5 separate regions of the Homo sapiens genome follow, and regions 2, 3, 4 and 5 are each linked to region 1. The links are contacts of gene promoters, found by promoter capture Hi-C in blood cells and fetal thymus (Javierre and others, 2016). All regions are on one chromosome and are shown on one strand. The core of a region is centred on a gene start or on the middle of the fragment in contact, and the rest is flanking DNA. Distances in the headings are between cores, read along the strand shown.

What was found. The method cuts DNA at HindIII sites, captures the fragments that hold promoters and counts their contacts. A CHiCAGO score of 5 or more calls a contact.
Region 2: a fragment that was not itself captured here is called in contact with the fragment with the promoter of NCOA3 in region 1 in 1 of 17 cell types (non-activated CD4 T cells); the score reaches 5.1 in non-activated CD4 T cells.
Region 3: a fragment that was not itself captured here is called in contact with the fragment with the promoter of NCOA3 in region 1 in 1 of 17 cell types (fetal thymus); the score reaches 9.4 in fetal thymus.
Region 4: a fragment that was not itself captured here is called in contact with the fragment with the promoter of NCOA3 in region 1 in 1 of 17 cell types (fetal thymus); the score reaches 10.0 in fetal thymus.
Region 5: a contact is called between a fragment that was not itself captured here and the fragment with the promoter of NCOA3 in region 1, in 1 of 17 cell types (naive CD8 T cells). The highest score is 5.4, in naive CD8 T cells.

What each region holds. Positions count from the first base shown.
Region 1 is chr20:47,500,499-47,503,284 of GRCh38, forward strand. It overlaps NCOA3 (nuclear receptor coactivator 3), which reads left to right and starts at 1,389. Exons shown (of 23, transcript NM_181659.3): 1 at 1,389-1,521. RefSeq lists a cis regulatory region at 305-377 and a silencer at 1,629-1,748. The HindIII fragment of the contact is 2,001 bases long and covers 720-2,720 here.
Region 2 is chr20:49,282,320-49,285,105 of GRCh38, forward strand. All of the region lies in intron 3 of ZFAS1 (ZNFX1 antisense RNA 1), which reads left to right. Among named protein-coding and RNA genes, the nearest start is that of SNORD12, 3.0 kb to the left of the region's middle. RefSeq lists an enhancer at 1,188-2,120. The HindIII fragment of the contact is 3,903 bases long and covers 1-2,786 here.
Region 3 is chr20:49,184,528-49,187,313 of GRCh38, forward strand. All of the region lies in intron 1 of STAU1 (staufen double-stranded RNA binding protein 1), which reads right to left. Among named protein-coding and RNA genes, the nearest start is that of STAU1, 2.4 kb to the right of the region's middle. RefSeq lists an enhancer at 2,551-2,620. The HindIII fragment of the contact is 2,335 bases long and covers 167-2,501 here.
Region 4 is chr20:49,047,954-49,050,739 of GRCh38, forward strand. All of the region lies in intron 1 of CSE1L (chromosome segregation 1 like), which reads left to right. Among named protein-coding and RNA genes, the nearest start is that of CSE1L, 3.0 kb to the left of the region's middle. The HindIII fragment of the contact is 707 bases long and covers 1,028-1,734 here.
Region 5 is chr20:48,775,284-48,778,069 of GRCh38, forward strand. The region is part of intron 1 of PREX1 (phosphatidylinositol-3,4,5-trisphosphate dependent Rac exchange factor 1); the gene reads right to left. Among named protein-coding and RNA genes, the nearest start is that of PREX1, 51 kb to the right of the region's middle. The HindIII fragment of the contact is 6,678 bases long and covers 1-2,786 here.

The DNA.
Region 1 (2,786 bases), core at 139-2,638:
GATCAGAGTGGGCAGGAAGTTAAAATAGAGCAGTTAGGGAAAGCCTCACTGAATAAGTGACATTTGGACAATGACCATGGGGAGATTAGGGAATGGGTTATTTGAATTTTCTGGGAAAATACTGTTCTAGGCAGAGGAAATAGCAAGTGCACGATCTTTAAGGCCAGAGTGTGCTAAGCACGTTGGAGAGGCCGAGTCCATTGTAGCTGAGTTACAGAAGTGAGTGGAAGAGAAGAAGGTGATGAGTTTAGAGAGGGAAGGGCAGGGCAAGAGACGGGCTGTATGGGGCTTTGCAGGTTACTGCAAGAATTTTGCAGGAGGGACAGAGACTGACTTGGTTCTTACCAGGATTCCTCTGGCTGCTGTGTTGAGTATAGACTCTAAGAGGAAAGAGTGGAAGCAGGCAGAACACTGAGGAGGCTGTTGCAGTGGTCCAGGTGGGAAATGATGGTGCTGACCGTGGAGGTGGTAAGTGGTCAGATTATTCTATTTTATTTACACTCAACACATCTAATACTGACTCAATATTATCTAACATACAGTCCACATTGAAATTGCCCCCCAAATTCTTTTTACATAAAAAAATCATCCTGAATCCAATCAAGTCTCACCTATTGCTTTTGGTTTTCACCTCTTTCATGCTGTCATATTTTAAAAGACTCCAGGCTAGATGTTGTGTAGAATGTCCCACATTCTGAATTCGTTTATTTTTTCAAGTAAGCTTTTTGTGTGTATGTGGCAAGAATACGACAGAGGTAGCAATATGCTTTCCCCACTGCATCATATTAGGAGACACATAACAACAGTCCTGACCCATTATTGGTGGTGCTAAGTTCGATCACTTGGTAAGGGGGTGCCTGCCAGATCTTTCCATTGTAAAGCAAGCTGTTCTTTATTGTAAGTCATAAATACGCTGTGGGATGATACTTCGGGACTAAATATACCCTGAATATACTGCTGCCCAACAACATTTCACCCAGTGACTTTAGCAGCTAAGGAACAGCCTCGTGGCTTCCGACCTTGTGCCTCAGTTCGCTCATCTGAAAAATGAGGATGATCATGGTCCCTACCGGATGCTTGTTTTGAGGATCCGTGCTTGGCATACCAGAAACGCTCCACAAATGTTAGGTATTACTGGACGAAGGCAAATATGAAAAAAATTAAGGGCAGGGCTAGGACTGCATTCCGGTTCTCCGGATCCCGAGGGAGCTCCCAGTCGATGCTGGGCGAAAGCGGCCGCACGAGCCCACGTCGCCACGCCCTCCGCCGCGGAAGCCAGGGTGGGGGTCGCTGGAACCCTAGGCCGGCCGCGCAAGGCCCCCTGGGACCGGTAGTGCTGGGCGTGGCCTCGGGACTACATATCCCAGTGGCCCCCGTGCGGCGACTTTAGCTGCTGCTGTCTCAGCCGCTCCACAGCGACGGCAGCGGCTGCGGCTTAGTCGGTGGCGGCCGGCGGCGGCTGCGGGCTGAGCGGCGAGTTTCCGATTTAAAGCTGAGCTGCGAGGAAAATGGCGGCGGGAGGTGAGTGGAGATAAAGGAGGAGGCGGTGGCGGGCGAGGGGGTGGAGTGCGAGGCGGAGGGAAGAGGGGCGAGTTCCCCAGGCTGCGAGAGCCAGCGGCTTCAGATCTGCCAAGGCACTGAGGGGCGCGCCGGCCGGGGGACGCGCTGAGGTAGTTTCGGGGTGTCGGGGCCGCGCCGCTTCCCCTCAGCCCGGGGGGCGGCCCGCGGCGGTAGGAGCTGAGACGAAGCTGGGTGGCAGTCCGCTTGGGGATCCGAGGGGGTCCCCGCGCGGAGGGGTCACCCGAGGAGTTTGCGGGGGGACTGCAGGGGCCCACTTTCCCCTTCTGTCCCTAAAGTTTTTTCTTCCTCTTGCCTCCCCCAGCCCTTTTGAAAGCTCCCCGCGTCGTCCTCCTGCTGCCCCGGCTCCTTAGCAGCTTCTGGGACGCACGGGAGGGAAAAGCCGCGGGGACCCCCCCCACCCCAGCCTCCCAGCCGGGTGAGATTTGGTTGCTGTGTTTCCTCCTCACTTGGGCATTTAAAAAATATTTTAACACGAATTGTCCGCGGAATTTTCATGTTGGGCTCGGGTAGCTTCTTAGTTTTCTCGGTAAAAAGGCGTTTTACTACCTCTGGTGTGAAGGCTGGGAAATGGCAAGTGGGAAGTTGGTTGATAAAATTAGGAGTTTGGCTGTCTTTATTACTACTTTTTTTTTTTTTTTGCTCTCCCCATCTCTCATTTTATGAACATCGACCCAGTTCGTCATGGTTTAAATAAACTGCTTGTCTTGTACCTGCCTTAACAAAACTAGCCATGGGTCGTTGGGAGACTTAGTTGCTTCCTAGGCAGTTTGAGGGCATCTAGGGTGGAAAAGTTAACCGAGAGAGCGAGCATCTACCTCACTGGCAGGATCTGGGATTCCCAAATGGAATGACACGGAAGCTATGAGATTCTCTCGAAGTCGAAACTTTTTTCCCCCTCCCGAATGCGAAGACTTCCTTTTTGCAATATTTGAGCAGGGCTTCAAAACCAACCTGTTTTTGTTATTAAGCCTGTACGGTAAAGAAACAGGAAGGAGAGTACCAGCTGTCTTGCTGCAGTGGTTTTAAATGGAGTTGAATGAGATGCGTGAGAGTGGTAGTAGTATTGAGTAAGATTGCTGCATCTCTTTGATTTAAATGCCTGGCCTCGGATCCACCTAACTGATCCCTGGCTGCAAAAAAGCTTCAGTATTTGTTGCAGCAGGTTGTTGAGAAGGTGATTGGAGGAATAAAAATCTTAGGTCTTC
Region 2 (2,786 bases), core at 113-2,612, 1.8 Mb after region 1:
CTCAGCCTCCTAACATGCTGGGATTACAGGCGTGTGCCACCACTCCCGGCCCAATCTACATTTTTATTTAGAGTTGACCACCAGAACAACATGGATTCAAACTTGCAGCTATTTGATTTTGGGCCTTAAATCTATCTGGCACTCCTCGTGGGATTCCAATGGCATCTATATAAACATGAGAGTCACGAGGGACATCCATTGTTTTATGATGTTCTGTTTTTATGTATGTTTTCTGGATGAAATACCAGGGTGAAAGGGAGATAGCCAATTGGATTAGAGCTCAAGTGCCACGCCAAGTAACTTGGCAGAGTATTCAGTAATGGTCCACCACAACACCACCATACGTTTGCTTGGGGATGAATAAGGGACGACTGATTGGTAAGCTCCTGGAAGGGCTTAAGCTCACTGCATCTCGTTAGGTCTCCAAGCAAATTCAAGTTCTCCCCCTGTGAGAGACACGAGGTAAAATTGGCATTGGAAGACGGATGCTTGATGGCCCTCGGGGGCTGACCCGCAGGGTGTCGGACTTCAGGGGACTTCAGGAAACAGCAGCGAGAGAGTTTGGCATAGCTTATTGCCCCAGGTTGTGGGGTCTTGGAAGAGAGCTGCCATACAACTTAATGCCTGATCGGCTGGAGGACGATCCGAGTGGAAAGGGAACAATCTGGGGCTCTGGCTTACCACGTGCGTAAGCATAACAATCGCTTTGTTTAGCGAGCGGACAGAATGTTTAATCCATTCCAGCCATGCATTTGCATCTCGGTACCGTTTCAATTGGTAGAGTTTGCTTTAGATCTTTAACCTCTACAATGGTCACTTTGGTTTTGTCATTGGGTGTTTGTTTAGAAGGGGATGAAGGGGGTGGGGGAACAATGAAGCGCATTTCGAAAGATCCTGTAGGGTCTATCCCTAATGTTGCGGCTCCCATGCTGTAGAAGCTACTTAAAGTGGGATTAGGATTGGTGGAGGTAGAGGTAAGAATAGAAATTTGCACTGGGTTACATTGGTGATATTGGCAATTAGAGGGGGCCTTCCCTTTGAAACGAAGGTAGGGTTGTAGAGAGATGCAGCTTTTTGGGGAAGTCTACCCTTGAGGATCGGTATTCCATAGGACGTCATTCCGGGATGGGCAGAACCTCTCCTCAAACCCTTCCCATTCCCAAACTGCAAAGAATGTAATGGATTTAGTTTCGATTAGGCAAGCATTGTGTGAGGATTTAGAATTTATCTTGGAAGGGCAGAGATATTTTTCTGAGAAGGCCAGTTGCCTCTGGTTTTGGAGATCCCCACAGGATATGACAAGACAGGCATCAAATGTGATTGAGGTGAGCTTGATCTAGTTACATTAATGATAAAATAGCTGACGGTAGAGAGAGGAAAGAAGACAAGGCAGTATAAGAGGGTTAAAGTTTTCGTAGCTTTAGGTTGGTAGAAATTGGCCCTGGAACAATAGCCCATGACTCTGAAGATGGTGATGCTGTTTTGACTGGGGTATGATGGGTCCACCCCTTTTCGGCTGTTCGGGCTGCTGTTTCAGTTAGGAGTGCTAGGTATGGTCCTTCCCAAGCTGGCTCCTTCCAGCTTTTGATAAGGATGTGATCTCCAGGCTGGTATTGATGTACCAGGAACTGTAAGGGTGGCATCTGTGCTAAAATACCTTTAGTTCTGAGGTAAGAGAAAGTGGAAAGCCAAGTATATAATTTGATCCTTTGTTTCAAAGGTAGGAATGTCAGTAGTAAGAGTGTAAATAAGGCAGTCCACATAACAGAGAGATAGGCCAGTATCTTTCTGAGAGGCAGTCCTGACTGAATTAGGTGAATCTGTAAACCCTTGGGGTAGGACTCTCCATTGGTACTGCTGCTTCCATCCAGAATGAGGGTTTTCCCACTCAAAAGCAAATACTTCTCTTGTCTTCAGCCAAGGGACATGCCCAGAAGGCATCTTTTAAATCTGTTACTCTGAACCATTGATTGTCATGGAATTCTGCTGAGGATGGTAAAAGGATTGGGGACAACAGGGTGGGTAGTCTGGACTATTTGGTTGATAGCCTGGAGATCTTGTACTAGTTGATGAGACCTGTCTGATTTCTTTACAGGTAATACTGGGGTGTTAATAGGGGGACATACAGGGTTCAGGGAATCAGTCCTGAATGAGAACTTCAACTACAGGCTTTAATTCTATTCTGCCCTCTAGGGGAATGGGATATTACCTTTTTCTTACTATTTCCCCTGGGGTCTTTAACTTTGTATGGATTGGAGTGACTTGAAGTTTCTTTTTTTCTTTCTTTTTTTTTTTTGAGTTGGAGTCTCTGTCACCCAAGCTGGAGTGCAATGGTGTGATCTTAAGCCACTGCAACCTTTGCCTCCTGGGTTCAAACAATTCTCCTGCCTCGGCCTCCTGAGTAGCTGGGATTACAGGCGCCTGCCACTGCACCCAGCTAATTTTTGTATTTTTAGTAGAGATGGGGTTTCACCATGTTGGCCAGGCTGGTCTCAAACTCCTGACCTCGTGATCCACCCACCTTGGCCTCCCAAAGTGCTGGTATTTCAAGTGTGAGCCAGCAAGCCCAGCCTCCCTGATTTCTTTTTCCTGCCCATACATGAGGATGAATGTATTTTTCTTCTGCGGTGGTAAGTCTCTTCCTAATAAGTTCGTTCCTGCCTCAGGGATTAACAGGAATTTAACATGGGCTGATCAATTTTTGTATAGACCTCTGTCTTTTAAGATTTTTGCTTTAAATCTTTTATCCCTGAGATAGAAAGTTCTTCTGAAGAACAGGTGATAGA
Region 3 (2,786 bases), core at 84-2,583, 1.7 Mb after region 1:
CACAGACAGTTTTTTTTCTCAACATTATCTTGAAACAACATTATTCAAGGACCTGCTGTAATCTGTATATACATGGACTTTCTGGCTGAAACCTAAAAGAGAGCAACTTATTCTCAAGAAACTATATTTATGGTAACAATTCTCAATGCTTAAAAGTTTTACGTTAAGCTTAATGGGAAGCACTACACATTTTTAAAAATGTGTTGTGTCCTTTCCCAGATACTAAATTGGCGTTTCTTTCCTAAATCAATTTTAAGAGGTGTATCTTTCCCCATCTTCCAGGTAGTCATAACTAAAACATAACATGTAACATTTCCACTGTACCTGATCAAGCTCAAAGTACACCTACAAAACTCAAATAACAGACCTAAAAGCTGAAAACTATTCACGACCAGAAATTTGAAAGTTATGCAACAAAGACATTTATAATATTTATAATATTCCTGTCAACTTCCATTGTAAGAGAGATCCTTTAGACACAAGAAAGAAAAACGTGAACACTTATGCTGTGATTTCATACTATTCACAAAAATTAAGGTTTCATTCATATTTGCTAAATTTGTTATTTGGAAATAGGGCAGACGGGGGCACTTTGGAAAACAATTCTATGTTAGAAGATTATCTTTTGCTTAATTCTTAACCTAAGGTAACAGCAGTATCTTTACACAACTACTGTAAAGAAACATTTTAAGTTTTCATTATGAATTATTAACTGTAGTTTAACTTTGACACAAAGTTATCTCTATTAAAGTGGGTTAAAAGGCAGGTCTCTGCCAAAACAGGACTGGGGAAATCTGTATTTGTTCGCTTTTCAATTATAGTCATTAATAGCTCAAGAATTTTTGCTTTTGTACACAATAAAGCAGCAAGGTTGTATTTTGATTTTGAGGAGCTGAAGGCATTGGATCAAGAGTTAATTTTCTTCTTCTTTTCTGCTGTACAGAAATCATGTATAAACAGAGAAGGGAAGCCCAACAAACAAAAATGAGAACTATTATTCTACTAAAAGTAAATTTTGTGACCTTAATCTGGGGCAATCTGGTAAAAGTCAAAATCGCTAATGTTGTGACACAATGTTTAAGATTTGTTTCAAAATAATCTAGTTTGTGTGGGGGGATACAACATGAAACAAAACCGACCTTGGCTATGAGTTAATAATTGTCAAAGCTAAGTGAGTGACTAACACATGGGGTTCTCCATACTATTCGAGTTTCGCATGTTTTCCAGAATAAAAGGTTTTTAAAAAATGGTATTTAAAATACCATTTCCCTATTGAAATATGCCATTGTGATATGGCAGTATTAGACATGCTTTATACTGCTTGTATAGTTGTTTGCTTATGTGTTTTTTTTGTTTTGTTTTTTTGGAGAGAGTCTCTCTCTGTCGCCCAGGCAACCTCCACCTCCCGGGTTCAAGCGATTCTCCTGTCTCAGCCTCGGGAGTAGCTGGGACTGCAGGCGCCCGCCACCACACCAGGCTCAAGAGATAGTCTCCATCTCCTGACCTCGTGATCCACCCGCCTCGGCCTCCCAAAAGTTCTGGGATTACAGGCGTGAGCCACCGCGCCTAACCTGCTTATGGAGGCCTAGGAGGGTGGATCACGAGGTTAGGAGTTCGAGACCAGTCTGGCCAACATGGCAAAACCCCGTCTCTACGAAAACTACAAAAATTAACACGGCGCGGTGGCGGGCGTCTGTAATCCCAGCTACTCGGGAGGCTGAGACGGGAGAATCTTTTGAACCAGGGTGGCAGAGGTTGAAATGAGCCGAAATCGCGCCACTGCACTCCAGCCTGGGCGACAGCGTGAGACTGTCTCAAAAAAAAAAAAAAATTCAAACAAACATTTTAAATTACAAACAATGGTAAGACTGTCAGAAAATTCTAGGAAAATGTCAAAAACAAGGAGGCCACTTTGCCGCATGTGTGTTAAGAGATGGGTATAAATCAAAATAGTTTCAGTTCACTAAGGAAATTTAATGCCTAAAACAATCCTAAGATACAGGAGGATCACTCAGGTAAACACACACTCCTTACTCATATAAAATTGAACACCCATAAGTTGCATTTCCTTAGAGTACACCTATAAAACTAAGTACAGAATTTTTAAAAACCCAGTATGTTTTAGTAAAGTTGCTGTTCTAAAAATCCCACCTGTCACCAGGATAACCGAAACTGCTCCCTCTACACTCCAACTGTATTTTTAGTTTTTACCTCAACAAGTAGCAATGCAATTTACACTTGGTAAGCACGGATTCCTGAAACGCCAAAATCAACCGGGAACCTGATTTAACTCCACCACGCTCTTAACAATGAAAGCTACAAGCAGAAGAGAAGTGTGACCTTAAAAACTTCCACACAGCCGAAGAACAGTGGCAGAACAGACTGAAGCACGTATCTTCGCGGAACAGAAGAAAACTTCCACACAAGCAATACTGCAACACGGAGGCGGGGCAAGGGCTTAAAAGGAAAGTCAGCCAACAGGGAGGGGTGAATATAAGCAAAGCTTCCGTGAAAAAAAACTTATCGAGGTGTAGAGCAAGACAAGACAGACAAATTTTTCCATCTCCGTACACCCCCCTTCAGAGCCCAACACACAGCAAGTGCTCTAGATAGGTTTGCTCAACTCAAGGGAAGCTTCTGCCAGCAACTTTCCCAGAAATGGAATGACAAGAAGAAGCTGGATGATGGCGGGGCGGGGAGAAATGGACAGGTTGCTCATCCTGCGGGAGATGGTGAATATCCTGCAGTTGCCTAAGCGGAGATGGAAAGAAACAGCATCCATCGTT
Region 4 (2,786 bases), core at 131-2,630, 1.5 Mb after region 1:
CTGTCTTGCTTACTTCTCTCTCCCTGGTGGGTGCCATCCCACCTGTGCTTGCCACATGGTAGATGCACAAGTATTATTCTTCCTTGGAGGCACAGAAGGGGACCCTTTAGTCTTGGATTCCACCAATTGCTCTTTTTCTCACCTTGGGCCCACATAGTCATATCTTTGGCCTTTCTCTGTGTGTGTCTCTCTCTTTTTTTTTTTTTTTTTTGACATGCTTTCAGAGGATCCTAATGGACCTCGTCTCTCCGCTCCTACAACCCTTTATCTTTCACTTCTTACCATCAGTGCAAGGGAAGTCTCTCTCCCCTTCTGATTACTTCTGCTGGTTGGGGTCTGGGACAGGATTGGATGGATGCAAGAGCAGTGCTCTAGTTTTGGAATTAATTTGTTTCTTTATTCATTTAATAACTTTATTGAGCATCCACTTAATCTCTGGGAATATAGTGAAAAAACAAAAATGGACAAGGTCCCTTCCCTTGAGGACCATGTATTCTCGTGGGCGAAAGAAAAAACATTAGATAATTTCAGATAGTGACAGAATTATGTGACAGGTGAAGAAGGCTTTTCTGAGGAGGTGACATTTGGGTAGAGACCAGCCATTAAAAGGTGAGGGGCAGAACATTCCAGGTAGAGGGAATAGAAGGCTCAAGGCTCAAGGACAGGAACCGGCTTGGAATATTGAAATATTTAAGGAATATCTTAGGTTCCTAGAGTGTTACATGAAGAAGGGAGAAATATCCAGGACCCGGATCATAGAAGGCTTTGTAGGCAATGTAAGGAGTTTGGATTTGATTCTAAGTGGTATATTCCTATGGTTAGAAAGCAGAGGGTAGGTTGAGGTGTTGGGATATGTTCTTCATGTGTGGGTGCCAGATAGTTTTCATTCATTGGATCTCTTTCCCTCTTCCCAAATGTAAGGCCTCGGGAATGGTTCTCTAATGTGTTGAGGACATATCTAAGAAAAAGGCAGACATCTTGGATCAGCTTATGTCACAGATGTCTGTGAGATGGCTTTGGAAAACAAAGCTTTTATTCCAGAAATCTCCACCTGTAATTGAGGGCCTGTGGGAAGATGCTAGACTTAGGTCTGGCCATTCATTCAACAAGAAGAACTTGGAAATTTAGATGTCTGCCATAACTGATTTATTGTGATGCTTTTTTAAGTTTCTTAATTGTGTATTGGTAGAGATTTCCAAAGATAGTTACGTGGAGAAAGAAAAGTATCACCCCCTCATTTAAAGGTGATAAAAATGAATTCTTATCTTCTCCCTCCCTTTTTTTTTTGGAGACACCATCTCACTGTGTTGCCTGGGCTGACCTGGGCTCAGTCTATCCTCCTACCTCAGCCTCCCGAGTAGCTAGGACTACAGGCGTGCACCACCACACTCAACTAATTTTTATTTTTTTTTTGTAGAGATGGCACCATGTTGCCCAGGTTGGTCTCAAACTCCTGGACTCAACCAATCTGCTTACCTTGGCCCCCCAAAGAGCTGGGATTACAGGCATGAGCCACCCTACTTGGCCAAAATGAATGTTTTGTTTCTAGTTTGAGTCATTTTTAGATCAGTAACACTTTTTGCATTTATATATTGCTAATATTTCAGAGTGTCAAAGTACCTTTACTTGTGGTTGCATAAGATAATTAGAGCTTGATCTTGTTGATAATTATGAATACCTGTAAAATGTTCTCTAAAAGTCCCTGATTTCTCTTATTTTCTCAAATTAAGGATAAGCTTAGAATTCGGTTTTATAGACTATATCTGCAAGGCGATATAAAAAGGATTTGTTGACAAATAGTTCCTTAAAGAATATTCCCAAAGAATAAACTTTGGAAGGCCAAGGTGGGCGGATCACTTGAGCTCAGGAGTTCCAGACCAGCCTGGGCAACACTGGAACCATGTCTACAGAAACAACACAAAAATTAGCCAGGTGTGGTGGTGTGTGCCTGTAGTCCCAGCTACTTGGGAGGTTGAAGTAGGAGGATGGCTTGAGCCCAGGAGGCAGAGGTTTCAGTGGGCCAGAATTACACCACTGCATTTCTCCAGCCTAGGTAACAGACCCAGACCCTGTCTCAAAAAAGAGTATTAAGATTCTGGGATCTATGTAGTATTTTAACTTTGAGGGATTATAACATGCATATTTATATAACCCCTCACTTTTTTTTAAACTTAAAAATAGTCCTACCCTAGCATCTCAACTTAATCATTTTAGGTTTCATTCTATTATGTGGTTTTATTTATTTATTTTTATTTTATTTTATTTTATTTTATTTTATTTTTGGAGACAGGGTTTCACTCAGTCACCCATACTGGACTGCAGTGGCAAGACCTCAGCTTATTGCAGCCTAGACCTCCCGGGCTCAAGCAATCCTCCTGCCTCAACTTCCCTAGTAGCTAGGACCACAGGAGGGTATCACCAAGCCCAGCTAATTTTTTTTTTTTTTTTTTTTTTTTTTTGAGATGGGAGTTTCACTTTTGTTGCCCAGGCTAGAGCTAGAGTGCAATGGTGCAGTCTTGGCTCATTGAAACCTCTGCCTCCCGGGTTCAAGCAATTCTCCTGTCTCAGCCTCCTGAGTAGCTGGGATTACAGGCGCATGCCACCACGCCCGGCTAATTTTTTTTTTTTTGTATTTTTAGTAGAGACGGGGTTTCATCACATTGGTCAGGCTGGTCTCGAACTCCTGACCTCAGATGATCCGCCTGCTTCGGCCTCCCAAAGTGCTGGGATTACAGACGTAAGCCACCGCGCCCGGCCTGAGCCCAGCTAATTTTTAAAATTTTTTG
Region 5 (2,786 bases), core at 136-2,635, 1.3 Mb after region 1:
AAGCCTTACGAAGAAATCAAGCAGGAAAGGGAGAGATAAAGCAAGGAGACGGGTGCTTTTTTAAATGTGGTGGCCAGGAAAAGCCTCCCTGATAAGAACACGTCCAGCTGAGACCCAGATGAGGTAAGGAGGTAAGCCATGGGTTACCAAGGGAGAGCACACCATGGGCAGTGGGGCAGCAGGGGCCTGCTTGGTGCACAGGGACAACAAGGAGACCACAATGGCTGGAGCAGAGTGAACAGGTGAGAGTAAGGACTGGGAAAGGGGACTCAGGCAGGGGGTGATATGGTTTGGCTGTGTCCCCACCCAAATCTCATCTTGAGTTCCCACATGTTATGGGAGGGATGCAATGGGAGGTAATTAAATGGGGGCAGGTCTTTCCCGTGCTGTTCTCGTGATAGTGAATAAGTCTCAAGAGATCAGATGGCTTTATAAGGTGCGGTTTCCCTGCACAAGCTCTCTCTTTGCCTGCCGCCATCCATGTAAAATGTGACTTGCTCCTCCTTGCCTTCCACCACGATTTTAAGGCCTCTCCAGGTGTGTGGAACTGTAAGTCCATTAAACCTCTTGCTTTTGTAAATTGCCCAGTGTCGGGTATGTCTTTATCAGCAGTATGAAAATGGACTAATACAGGCGGTTTTGGAAATCTGGGCAAGAAGGTAGGTGGGGGCCAGAGGTGCAGCTAAGGAGACAGGGTTCTGTTGTAAGCTCAGCAGGCAAGGCCCTGAGGAAGGAGGGCTCTCACATCTAACAAGCAGGGGGAAGAGACAAGCATCACATCCTCACCAATGGAGGTGAGCACAGTGACCTTTCCCCTGGACGGTAGAGGACCCCAAGGCCCAGCTGGAGACTCCCCTCACCCCCTGAGGCTTATTTTCCCCCTCTGTAAAATGGGGACACAAGTCCTGCCCAGCCTCCTGCAGGGGCATCTAATGAGGAATGAGGCTAAAAGAGTGAAGCTAGAGTCCGGGTCATCCTGGACCACAACCTCAGGGCTGCTCTGGCCCCTACACCCCAACAGCCTCCCAGGTTCTAAAGTCCAATGTCCCCCATGGACCCCGCCCCCCTCAGACAGCCGAGACAGGCGCTCTGAGAGCCAAGATGTCCAAGGAGGTGGCACCTGGCAACCAGATGCCTGCTTAGCAGCTGTGGGAGGGGATGGCAGCTGGACTCCTTGGCAACCAGCCGCTGGAGCCTGGAAGCCAGGCATCACTTCAGAGGGGGAGTCCACGGGGCGGGGCTGGGGACAGAGTTTCTCAGGCTCCTTTCTAAAGCACATGACTCACAGGCCCTCGGAAAACCCAGCAGGCCCCTGAATTCCAGAACACTGCTTGTAGGGCTGGAGGCCTCTACTTTGCTCTCTGCCTGGAAACTACTTAGTGTCCAGTCACTGAGGTATTTGCTCCCATGGCCACTCAGTCTCCTCTCTGGAAGGGAGACCAATGCCTACTATGCGGGCACACGTGAAGATTCAGCATTAACACAAAAAATCAGAACAGCAGGCATTCAGGAAGCAGCTACCCTGTGCCAGGCTCTGTGCTACGTATTTCTCCTAAGAGTCAGTGGTAGTACTGTTAATCCCATTTTACAGATGAGAAAACTGAGGCACACTCACAGGTAAAGCATCACACACAGCGAGTGGCAGAGCCAGAGACTGACCTCCACTCCAGGCCCATAACCACTCCAACACCCTGCGATGTGCGAAAGGTCCGAGGGGTTTCTCCCGCCCCTTGGTCCAGTCAACAAGTAATTCCACTCATCAATATGAATAATAATAGTTGCTGTTGTTTATTGGCAACTATTTAGCAACTGGGAAGTGAGCTAACGTTTATGAGCAACGGGGAAGTGAGGTAAGTGGCCCACAAAGGCACACTGGGAAGGGGGAAGTACAGCCTAAATACAGGCTTTCTGATGCCAAAACCCGCCACACCACACGAGGCACAAACACCAGACCAGGTCTGAACAACATGAGCTGGTCATGCCCCAATTCTCTAACTCTCCAGCCTCCAGCATGAGGCCCAGGAGCCCCCGGCCACACACCACCATTCTCTTGAGGGTATGAAGGCTTTCGCTGGAATCCCAAACCCAGACAGTGAACGGAAGGCTGTTCAACCCCAGCAACCTTCAGAACTGACCATTACGGTTGATGCTGATCCCATGCCTACCACCCAGAAGTGCCTACAGACAGGGCCTCCGGCGGAATCCAAGGCTCCCTAACATCACATCACAAATATCTGAGAACAAAACTTGACAGCTAGAGTCAGGCAGGGAGGTAAGAACCTGAAATGCTGTTGCCCTCAAGAGGTTAACAGTCTCAAGGTAGCCACAACCACACATAATGGACTCTGATATAAAGACCAAGGCCTGAAGGGTCACGGCAAAGCCAAGCTGTATGGCTTGGGGCCGGCAGCTGTACCTCTCTGAGACTCTGCATCCACATCTGTAAAATGGGCATAACGACAGCAGTACTCTGTAGTGACAAAGACCTGCGGAGAGGCTGTGGATCAAGAACTAAGAACAATGCCAAAAACACAGCTCTGACTGGAAGTGGGGTTGCTATCATCATCATCAGCAGCAGCAGCATCATTATCGGGATTATCAGTATTTCAGATCCCACAGCCAGAGGTGCCCAAGACGTCTACACCAGGGGCTACAAACACCAATGCCAACAGAAGCCATGCAAGGAAAGTGACTGAGTGAAGCTGGCCAGGAGTAGTACAAAAGGGAAGGGTGGGGACTGTGGCAAACTGGAGAGCAGACATCCATCTAAAGGGTAAGCTGTGACT